Linked DNA regions of Homo sapiens: region 1 is linked to region 2. The links are contacts of gene promoters, found by promoter capture Hi-C in blood cells and fetal thymus (Javierre and others, 2016). All regions are on one chromosome and are shown on one strand. The core of a region is centred on a gene start or on the middle of the fragment in contact, and the rest is flanking DNA. Distances in the headings are between cores, read along the strand shown.

What was found. The method cuts DNA at HindIII sites, captures the fragments that hold promoters and counts their contacts. A CHiCAGO score of 5 or more calls a contact.
Region 1: the fragment with the promoter of DPP9 here is called in contact with the fragment with the promoter of UBXN6 in region 2 in 1 of 17 cell types (neutrophils); the score reaches 5.4 in neutrophils.

Annotation. Positions count from the first base shown.
Region 1 is chr19:4,719,792-4,725,286 of GRCh38, forward strand. DPP9 (dipeptidyl peptidase 9) reads right to left here and starts at 4,051. Exons shown (of 22, transcript NM_139159.5): 1 at 3,883-4,051; 2 at 2,708-2,760; 3 at 60-150. The coding sequence starts at 115. TRG-TCC1-1 (tRNA-Gly (anticodon TCC) 1-1) reads left to right here and starts at 4,279; the gene lies at 4,279-4,350. TRV-CAC3-1 (tRNA-Val (anticodon CAC) 3-1) reads right to left here and starts at 4,916; the gene lies at 4,844-4,916. It overlaps LOC105372250 (a long non-coding RNA gene), which reads left to right and starts at 3,089. Exons shown (of 3, transcript XR_936274.2): 1 at 3,089-3,195; 2 at 4,829-4,918; 3 at 5,344-5,495. RefSeq lists silencers at 3,852-4,001, 4,232-4,321, 4,772-4,971. The HindIII fragment of the contact is 17,947 bases long and covers 1-5,224 here.
Region 2 is chr19:4,455,708-4,461,625 of GRCh38, forward strand. It overlaps UBXN6 (UBX domain protein 6), which reads right to left and starts at 2,087. Exons shown (of 11, transcript NM_025241.3): 1 at 1,908-2,087. The coding sequence starts at 1,990. RefSeq lists silencers at 1,889-1,958, 1,989-2,038 and an enhancer at 2,149-2,348. The HindIII fragment of the contact is 12,393 bases long and covers 1-5,918 here.

The sequences.
Region 1 (5,495 bases), core at 2,801-5,300, 270 kb after region 2:
GGGAATTCCAGAAGCTGGGCCACATCCTCACGGATCAGGGCCTCCGAGGCCAACCTCACCTTCTCCAACTTCCGGTGTTCTCCTTGTCCAGGCGCAGTTTCTTAACCTTCCGCATTAACCGCTCAGCTGACCTCAGGAGGGCAGGGGTGCCTGCGGGCAAGTGGGAGGAGAGATCAAAGGGCTGCAACCCCAGCAGGTGGGGAGTGGGCGCTCCTGCCCCCTTCGCCCCCTCCTCATTGCTCCAGGCAGCCCCCCAAGCCTCCGGGGAGCACCCTGAAGCCAAGGGCATTCTGAAGAGACGATGCTTCAGGCCCTGGCCTGAAATGCAGGAGGTTCTGGGCATTTGCCAGAGCCCGTCATCTTTCTCAACAGGAGGTTCCTTTCAAGGTGTAAAGTCCCTGGGAGTTTCAAGTGACTCCAGGGACATCACACCAGGGCACCTGCTGGAAATAGAAGAATCCCAAATTCCTCACTGTGGCCGTTGCCTGATGGCCCTGGTGACCTTGCCTACTTGCTTCACCCTTGACCATGACCTTCGGCCACACTTGCCTCCTTCTTGTCCCTCAACACACCTGCTCGCTCCTAGCACACAGCTTCTGCACGACGCACCCCGTGGCCTGAAATGCCAGTTCCTGCTTTTGATATGACTTGCTCTTTCTTGCCCTGTGGCTCCTGATACCACCTCTTCAGAGGTCTTTCCTGAGCACCCCATCTGAAGATGCTACCTGGCGACCCCCATCACCACACCCAGACGCTGATACAATGGCCTGGACCATAATTCCAGTTGTCCCCTTCCCCAGGGAGAGTGGTTCTCAACTGGGGGCGATTTGGCCCCTCAGGGGACACTGGACAATGTCTGGAGACATGTGTGGCTGTCACAACTCGGGGGTGACCCTGGCATGGAGTGGGTGGAGCCCAGAGATGCTGCTTAGCACCCCACAGTGCCCAGGATAACCCACCTCAGAGAAGGATCCCACCTCAAATGTCAGCAATGCCAAGCCGGAGACCCCTGCATCCATTACTTGGGGAGAAACTTGAGTTCAACGCCTACGCTCATATTAATACTGGAATAAACTTCCCATGGAACAAGCATTCTAAACGAGGGGGACCCCCAGCTCCTGGGATTCACCTCCTTTCTCCCTCCCCACTCAGGGTGAGGATTTCAATGTGTGCAGCCTCCTGGGACCTTAGTAGGGCAGAGGATCATGGGACGCAGTCTCTTGGGGATCCATGGAATCCCCTAACCCAGGGGTCTCACCTGGGGATAACCGGCCCCCCCAGGGGACATTTTTGGTTATGACGACTGGGACGGTGAGGGGAGGCATGTGGCCAGTGGAGGCCAGCGATGCTGCTCAACCCCTTACAGTGGACAGAACAGCCCCCCTCCCACTCCTCTGCCAAGAATGACCCAACCCTAAATATCAGTGGCAAAGCTGAGAAACCCTGCTGTGGGTAAGGGGGCACTCCTCACGGGAATATCAGTTCCACAGGGCAGGCCACATCTATCCTGGTCCCAACAGATTGCCTGAGCCCAGACCATGCCTGGTCCTCAACAAACATTTCAGGTTGAATGAATGAGCTACTGTGCTTTCTTGGATGCCGTCTAAAGTCAAAGGGGCCCCTTGTTTGGTTGGTGCCCAACTACCTTCTCAGACAAGCCAGGTCCCATGATGCGCAGTTGCCCAAAGGCTTAAAGAAGAGAGGGCCAGCTGGGTACAGTGGCTCACGCCTTTAATCCCAGCACTTTGGGGGGCTGAGGCGGGCAGATCACCTGAGGTCTGGAGTTCGAGACCAGCCTGGCCAACATGGTGAAACTCCAGCTCTACTAAAAATACAAAAATTAGCCAGCTGTGGTGGTGCAAGCCTGTAATCCCAGCTACTCAGGAGGCTGAGACAGAAGAATTGCTTGAACTCAGAAGGCGGAGGTTGCAGTGAGCTAAGATTGTGCCATTGCACTCCAGGGGTGACAGAGCGAGGTTCTGTCTCAAAAACAAAAGAAGAGAGGGAAGCACATGGGGACAGGACTGAGATTTTAAGGGAAGAGGTTAAGCATAAAGTCACCACGAAAAATCACTGGCCATACTCTCAGTCCAGTGGTGAAAAGCGTGGGCTCTGGTCTCAGAGAGAAAGGTTCAAATCCTGACTCTGCCACTTCTGGGGAAGTCGCTGAACCTCTCTGAGCTTCCACTTCCCCAGCGAGAACATGGTATGACAGTATCTACGCCTGGGGCCACCAAGGGAATTGAATGAGACTGCACACATACAGCTTTTAACACAGTGTCTGATGTAGCACAAACTAAATGACAGCTAGCATTGTCAACTAAACAAGATACTCAAAACCACAGGAAGGGGGAGACTCAAACTAAAGTCCTTTCAGGGCCAGAATCCACACCATTTACTGACCGGGTCAGGCAGTGTAGGTGGATCCAGGCACCCCTCCACCAAATCCTGCTGAAATCAGCACTCTCCCCTTCCTCTCCTCAAAGCCTTCAAAAAGCTCCTTCCAGGGGCAGCTAGAGGGGGACAGGGGTGGAAAGAAAAGCCTCCAGCAGGCGCACAAAAAACTGCAGCCACTGCCCTGCGGAGGACAACCATCCAGGGCCATAGAAAACCATTTCCTGCCCATGTCTATATTCTAGAGCAGGCAAAGGAATCCCACCAGCCCACACCCCAGCCTTCCTGGCTGCCAAACCCCAGCACAACTGACCTTCTAAAGGGTCCAGAGAGCCTCCATTCCAGCTGCAGGCGTGGGACACAGACCTTTATAGGATAAACATGTCATGAATGTGGCAGGTTAATGGAAGCACCGGCCAGCCGTTCAGCCTCCCCCACTCAGGAGCTGCAGACTGTCAGGCCCGATTCTACCTGGCTAGATTCTAGCTCTGCCTTGAAGCCCTGCAGCACTGTCTGCATGCCCTGGACAGAATCTGGGAGAGAAGCCATCCCACGGGCCCCGATTCCCCTGGGACCCAGCAGAGGAATGCAGGGATTGGTGCCTACGGTCCACACCCCCTGGGCTTTAGTCCCAGCTCCTCGAAAGCAGGTTGGTTCTTGCCTGGGAGGCAAGTGACTTCCTCCTGGGGCCCCTGGGGAAGACCAGGGGGTGGGGGCCAAGGGAATAGACCACTTTTGATGGCTCAGAGGCAGCGTGAACAGGGAAGTGTCAGGGCTGGCCTAAGGCTGTGTGGGAAGAAGGTAGGCGGTTGGACAGGCCTGAGAAGGGAGGCTGAGAGAAGGGGGCTGAACCCTGTGGGCTGGACCCTTGGAAGACAGCTATGCTAACCACTACACCACCAACGCCTCGGCAGGAAAAAGAGTCTCTGGATACCCTTAATAGAGGGATCAAGTAGGGTTGAGGATCAGGACTGGATTGGGGAGACCAAGCCTCGGGGCGAAGGTTGGAGGAAGTGGTAAAGGAGTGAGGACAGGATGCAGGTCGAGGGAGGTGGCCTCTGTGCATATACAGCATTTGCATGGGGAGAGGGAGGAGATCGGGACCTCCAGAGCCTGCACGAAAGGGGAGAGGGTGTCAAGGTCTGCAGCTACGAGGACGTTCTTGGGTGCGGCCACCTCCGGAAGGGGTCAGAGCCTGGTGGCCTGGGCAGCAACGGGATGGGTGGGGAAGCCCATCAGGGAAGGGGAGAAACTGGGAGGTGGCCTGGCCAGCGCAGGAATCGGGGAGGGAAAGAAGGTGGAGGAGGGCCTGGGGCGGAGAGGAAACGAGGCAGGGGGCCGGAGGGACCCACAGACGGGTGCATGGAGGCTCCGGGGTGCGGGGAGGCCAGGCGATGGCGAGGGCAGGGTCAGGGCCGAGGCGGGGCCGGTCAATGGCGGGTTCAGGGTCGCGGCCGGGGCGGGACGAGGCGCGCGGGCGCTGCTCACCGGGACGTGGGGCGGCGGCCGGACTGGGCAGGTCGTCCCGGGTCCAGCGGCGCCTCACGGTCGCGGCTCCATGCCCGGGACTGCGACCCCGGAAGTGGCGGGAGCGGGGGACGACAGCCGCGGCGGACACAGGGGACCCGCCGGCTCAGGCACCTTTGACCCGGAAGTTGAGCGACCCAGGCGGCGGCCTGGGATTGGACACCACCAGGCACGTACCAAGGCGTCCGCGGCGCTTGGGGGGGAGCCCGCGGCGCGGCGGCCTAAGGTGCGTAACGCCCCATGAACGACATCTTCCGGTGGGTTAGGGAGAGACACCCCCCTGTGACTTGGTATCACTCAGTCAAACCCATGATCCCCCACTATTAAGGATATCCGGAGAGGATGCTACCTATCAGGGCGTTGGTGGTATAGTGGTTAGCATAGCTGCCTTCCAAGCAGTTGACCCGGGTTCGATTCCCGGCCAACGCATGCGGTACCACTTTTGCGAGTTTGAAATTTTCATTTTAGTTTTGAGACGGAGTCTCGCTCGGTCCCCCAGGCTGGAGTGCAGTGGCGTGATCTCCGCTCACTGCAACCACCACCTCCCAGGTTCAAACGATTCTCCTGCCTCAGCCTCCCAAGTAGCTGTGATTACAAGCGCACGCCACCACGCCCATCTAATTTTTGTATTTTTAGTAGAGATGGGGTGGGGTGGGGCGGGGTGGGGCGGGGTGGGGGGGGGGGGGCGGTTCACCATTTTGGCCAGGCTGGTCTCGAACTCTGACTTCAGGTGATCCGCCCTCTTCGGCCTTTCAAAGTGCTGGGATTACAGGCGTGAGCCATCAATCACGGAAAATTTTTTTAAATCCCATAAAAATGTCTAAAAGGCAGGAGGAAGGCGGAAGAGAAAGAATGGGACTAGAATCGTTCTTTCGGTGAATTTCAAATAGTATTACTCTCCGGTTAGGAAAAACAGCTGACCTGTTTCCGCCCGGGATCGAACCGGGGACCTTTCGCGTGTGAGGCGAATGTGATAACCGCTACACTACGGAAACCGGTAGGCGTCAGGGTTCTTTAAATTCTCCTATAGAGATAATGTTGCAGTGATAGTTGCGTTGTCCCACCAAAGAAACACTGGCTACAGTCAGCTAAAGCAATATCCGCTCTTCCTGAATATCTGTTATTGTATTTGATACAGTAGAGACCGAAAGAAGGAAAATAAGGAAGACAAAAAGAAATCCAATAAACACCCTTTCCAACACACCCACCCACCCACACACATGTTTATCACTTTATCATAAATCCACCTTCCATTAAAACAATGCACGTCAAACGGCCCACAAACCCATCCGGGGTCAAATGAAGCTTTTCATCTCATAGATATCAATCTATACTTGATATCACATTAGTTTCTGCAGATATTCACCATTTTGCTTTAGATCAAACTACTTTTTTGTGTGTTTTGTTTTTTGTATTTTTTAGAGAGAGTCTCGTTCTGTCGCCTAGGCTCGAGTGCAGTGGTACGATCATCCCTCCCTGCAGCCTCCACCTCCTGGGCTCAAGCGATCCTCCCACCTCAGCCTCCTGGGTAGCTTGGACCACAGGTGTGGACCACCACGCCTGGCTGAATTTTA
Region 2 (5,918 bases), core at 837-3,336:
CACTGTCTGCACCTTCTGCCCAGAATGTTCTCCGGGGGAGTGGGAGGAGGATGGGGGTCTGGAAAGGGCTAGAGCTGCCGCAGGGAGAGAAGGAGGGGCAGATTTCCCCACAGCTGAGTCTCACTGTGTCCTGGGAGAGGCCTTCCCAAACCACCTGACGGCCCCTGCTCACCCTCCTTGGAGGCCCTGGGCACTCATCCAAGCACTCATCGCCTGAGCGCTCATCCAAGGTCTGTTGGTTTATTTGTCCATCGGCTCCCTCTAGAAGGTGAGCCCTGGGACAGCAGAGGCCTTCTCCTGTCCACCACTGCAGCCTAAAACAGGACTTGGTGCCCACCCACCCCACACACCCTGGATATGCAGTCTCGCTCCACAAGGGACCTCCGCACCGCTTCCTTTCCCAACCTTCCCCTCCAACCTTCCCCTCTCCGCCCAGGCTCTGGGCTGATCCAGCCATCACCCCGATACCCTGCATCCTTCCTATCATGCCCAGTCCCAGTGGCCCCAGCACCCCCCACCCACTATTGGTTGAATCAATGAAGGGCTCCCCCGATTTGCCCCCTTCTCTCCCTGACCCCTCTCCCTCCCTCACTCAGCCTTTGCTCTCCTGCTCTCCCCCAGGAACCCTGACGTCCTCACTATGCCCCTACCTCCATCACCACCCCACTGCCCCGTGATTCCTGACCCCCACTTCCTGCCACCTCCCTGCCTCTCCCAGCCCCCACTCCCTCACAATCCCTTCCACTATTGCTTACAGACCCGTGTCCTGGCTGCCTGGCTGACTTCCTCAGTCCCTCTCCATCAGTCCCCACCACCCTCTGGCCAGCCAGCTCCCTGCAGCGGCCCCAGCTCTCCAGTTTCCCTTTTCTCAACCCAACAGCCCTCAGCCTTGCACCTTCCCTAGCTCCACTTCTTCCCCGGCCCTCCCAGCTGGCTCAGCCCTGCTCAGGCCCTTCTCTCCAAGTCCTCCCTAGACAATCCGGAAGCCTGCCCGGCATCTATCTCCTTTCCCCTCCTCTCCCACTTCCATAATCCACTTGGCACAGTGACGTGGCAGAGAAGCCTCGCAGAGAAGCTCTTTCTCCCAGCCTGCTAAGACGCGTCTGTCTCACCCGTCTTCTCCTCTCAGGCCCCTCCCGGGTAAGAGTCCATCTGTCAGAATCCCTCACCTCCACTCTCCTCACACACCTTCCTCAGCCCCTCCCTCTCAATTCGCCAGGACATCCCAGGTCACTGACGACGCTGCCCACCCCGGCCTCCCTGGCCTTCCAGACTCTTTCTAGTCTCCCATCAGCCTCCCACGTGCTCCAGATACCAAATCCAGAACCCCTCTTCCCATGGATACCTCAAAACAACTCTTCACCACCCCACCCCACAGCTGTGCGTCCTCCTCCAAGCTCAGCTCCCATCCATGGTCACCTAGATTGCCCCAAATCATCCCGGCCTCTTCGGCCAGCCGGGTCCCCAGACAGAGCTCTCCCTCACCACCCGGCTCAGGACTCATGATCCCGTTTTTCCCCAAAGGTCGTTCCACTGACCCCCAACTGCCTACAGCCCCGTCGCCCTAATCCCCCGCCACTGCATCGGACCCTCCTGCGGCCCCGCCCCCGAGACCTCCCCTCCCGCCCCGCCCCCTGCGCTAGTTCCCCTCCCCTCGCCTCCCCCGCCGCGCCCCCGGGTCATACCCGCCCCCTCCTGCCCCGCCCCCAGATCTCTCTCCCCTCCCCCTGACGCCCACCCTCGGCCCGACTTCGTCCGCCCCCGGCGCCTCTCCCCCTCCCCTGACCCTCGCGTGCCGCTCCCAGCCCCTCATCCTCTCCGATCTCCCGAGCCGCCCAAGGCCCCAGATCTCTCTCCCCGGCCGTCCCCGCCCCGCAGGGCCTCAAGCCCCTGCGTTCCTCACGCACCCCACGGACTCTTTGAGCTTCTGACCGGGTCCCGCGCTCTTGAACTTGATGTCGGCCTTGAACTCCTGAAAGAATTTCTTCATGGTGGCGGCTGGCCCGGCGGCGGGGGGCCGCGGGGGCGGGGGGGCACGGGGCCCAGTCGGGGACGGGGCCGCCGGAGACCAGCCACCGGAAGAAAATTAAAAAAAAAAAAAAAAAAAAAAAAAAAATTTACCTCGCCGCCGGAAGTCCCGCCTTCCCCTGGCCTGCCACGTGACAATCGACTAGACGTGCCTCTCTAGCGCTCGGTGCCTTGCTGGCCCAGGGCGGCCGCTCTGTACGCTGGAGCCGCGTCTCTGTGGTTCTTCCGGACTCCGTTGCCAGGGCGACGAGTGCACCTCTCGATTGGAGACAGGGCATTCCGTGGCGCTCCCCAAACGGTGACAAACGGTGATAGGACAGGGACAGGCCAACTGAACCTCGCAGAGAAAGCACTGGGCCCTATCCCTTTCGCTGCTCAACCTAAACTAGGCGCGGTGGCTCACGCCTGCAATCACAGCACTTTGGAGGCTCAAGCGGAAGGATTGCTTGATCCCAGAAGTTGGAGACCAGCCTGGCAACATGGCAAAACCTCGTCTCTATAAAAAAAAAAAAAATAAAATAAAATAAATTAGCCGAGGGTGGTGGCGCGCGCCTCTCAGCTACTTGGGAGGCAGAGGCGGGAGGATCGCTTGAACCCAAGAGGTCGAGGCTGCAGTGAGCTGTGATCAAGCCACTGCATTCCAGCCTGGGCGACAGAGAGAGACCCTGTCTCAAGCAAAACAAAAAAAATTCCAACCTTCTCTGTCTCCCCAGAGCTTACGTGATAAAATCCCAATTCAATGTTGGGTATTGGAGGCCCCCACGATCTGGCCTGTTTTGGTGCCTGAAGCACCCCCCCGCCACCATCACCACGTACCCTAGGTAGGAGCTGTTTAAGAGGATGCACCTGGGCCGGGCGCGGTGGCTCATGCCTGTAATCCCAGCACTTTGGGAGGCCGAAGCGGGCGGATCACAAGGTCAGGAGATCGAGACCATCCTGGCTAACACGGTGATACCCCGTCTCTACTAAAAATACAAAAAATTAGCCGGGCATGGTGGCAGGCGTCTGTACTCACAGCTACTCGGGAGGCTGAGGCAGGAGAATGGCGTGAACCCGCGAGGCGGAGCTTGCAGTGAGCCGAGATCTCACCACTGCACTCCAGCCTGGGCGACAGAGCGAGACTCCGTCTCAAAAAAAAAAAAAAAAAAAAAAAAAGAGGATGCACCCAATGCACCCAATTGGGACCTGGGGATTGGGGATCCACTTTGGTGGACACCAGTTAATAGTGGCGTACTTTGGTCTGTGCAATCCACAAAGAAGATACACAAAGTGACAGTTAAAACAAGCCTCAAAAAATGGGAGTTGGGGGTCAGACGTGGTGGCTCATGCCTCTAATCCCAGCACTTTGGGAGGCCGAGGCCGGCGGATCACTTGAGGTCAGGAGTTTGAGACCAGCCTGGCCAACATGGTGAAAGCCTGTCTCTATGGGCACCGGTAATCCCAGCTACTCGGGAGGCTGAGGCAGGAGAATCGCTTGAACCCGGCAGGTGGAGGTTGCAGTGAGCCGAGATCTCGCCATTGCACTTCAGCCTGGGCAACAGAGGGAGACTCTGCCTCAAAAAAGAAGGAGTTGGAATGAGATACACAGAGACTGATGGAGGAGAAGCCTCCAGGTGAGGAAACAGCCCACCCCAAGACTGAAATTGAAATATCATGGGTTGGACGGGTGGCTCAGGCCTGCAGTCCCAACATTTTGGGAGGCCAAGGTGGGAGGATTGCTTTAGCCCAGGAATTGGAGGCTGCAGTAAGCTAGGATCACGCCACTGCACTCCAGCCTGGGCAACAGAGCCAGACCCTGTCTTATTAAAAAAAGAAAAAAAGGCCAGGCACGGTGGCTCATGCCTGTAATCCCAGCCCTTTGGAAGGCCGAGGCGGGTGGATCACGAGGTCAGGAGATTGAGACCATCCCGGCTAATACGGTGAAACCCTGTCTTTACTGAAAATAATTTTTAAAAAAATTAGCCAGCCTTGGTGGCGGGCGCCTGTAGTCCCAGCTACTTGGGAGGCTGAGGCAGGAGAATGGCGTGAACCCAGGAGGCAGAGCTTACAGTGAGCCGAGATCATGCCACTGTGCTCCAGCCTGGGCAACAGAGCAAGACTCCGTTTCAAAAAAAAAAAAAAAAGGAAAAGAATTGGGCCAGGTGCGGTGGCTCACACCTGTAATCCCAGCACTTTGGGAGGTCAAGGCGGGTGGATCACTTAAGGTCAGAAGTTCAAGACCGACCTGGCCAACATAGCAAAACCCCGTCTCTATTAAAAATACAAAAATCAGCCGGGTGTGGTGGTGTGTGCCAGTAATCCCAGCTACTTGAGAAGCTGAGGCAGCAGAATCACTTGAACGCAGGAGACAGAGGTTGCAGTGAGCTGAGATTGCACCACTGCACTCCAGCCTGGGCGACAGAGCGAGACTCTGTCTCAAAAATAAATAAATAAAGTAAAAAAATAAATAAATAAAAGAAGAATACAGTGCAACCCAAACTTCAATCTTTCTGATCTCCAGTCTCCTATCTATGAAATGGGGATAAGAATAACACTCTCTATAGATTGTAGGGGTGATCATGTGATTAGAAAGTTCTCAGTATGCCGGGCACGGTGGCTCATGCCTGTAATCCCAGCTACTCAGGAGGCTAAGGCAGGAGAATCACCTGAACTTGGGAAGCAGAGGTTGCAGTGAGCCGAGACTGCGCCACTGCAATCCAGCTTGGCAACAGAGCAAGACTCCGTCTCAAAAAGAAAAGAAAAGAAAATTACAGCTCATTGTTGTGAATAAGGAATTGTATACCCTATAACTCAAATAAAGGTACAACACTGGGCCAAAGTCACACAGCTGGAAAGTGGCAGAGACCCATCCCACTTCTCCAAGAATAAAATCCTATGGGGTTCCTCAGCCTGGTCTAAGGAGATCCTAACATTAATAGGCCCTAATAAATTTCTATTTCAGGTTCTAAGTATTCTGAGGGTTTCAGAAACCCCGTTTCTTGTTATCACCCACCTTTCCACCTCTGCCTCAGTTACCTGGAAGTATTTCCAGCTCACCTCTGGGCCTTTGCCTAGGCATTCTCCTTTACCAGAAGGGACTTCTCTTCCTCTGCCTAACTCAATCCTCTTCCACCATGACGCTCTCCTGGACTATCTTCCTCATGTCGGATGAGGTTATGAGATTAAATAATTTAACATTTCTGCCAGGAGCGGTCGGTGGCTCACACCAGTAATTCCAGCACTTTGGGAGGACAACATTTATTTTTCTTTTCTTTTCTTTTCTTTTTTTTTTTTTTGAGATGGAGTCTCGCTCTGTTGCCCAGGCTGCAGTGCAGTGGCACAATCTTGGCTCACTGCAAGCTCCACCTCCCAGGTTCACACCATTCTCCTGCCTCAGCCTCCCGACTAGCTGGGACTACAGGCGCCCGCCACCACACCCGGCTAATTTTTTGTATTTTTAGTAGAGACGGGGTTTCACCGTGTTAGCCAAGATGGTCTCGATCTCCTGACCCCGTGATCCGCCCGCCTCGGCCTCCCAAAGTGCTGGGATTACAGGCATGAGCCACCATGCCCAGCTTTCTTTTTTTTTTTAGACAGGGTCTTACTCTCTTCCCCACGCTGGAGTGCAGTGGCACAATCATGGCTCACTGCAGCCTAGAACTTCTGAGCTCAAGCAGTCCTCCCCACTCAGCTTCCCAAGAAGCTGGGACTGCAGGCATGTGCCACCACACTCAGCTAATTTTTTTTTTTTTTTTTTTTTTGAGAAGGAATTTCGCTCTTGTTGCCCAGGCTGTAGTGCAATGGTGCGATCTCGGCTCACCACAACCTCCATCTCTCGGATTCTCCTGCCTCAGCCTCCCGAGTAGTTGAGATTACAGGCACCCGCCACCATGCCTGGCTACTTTTTTGTA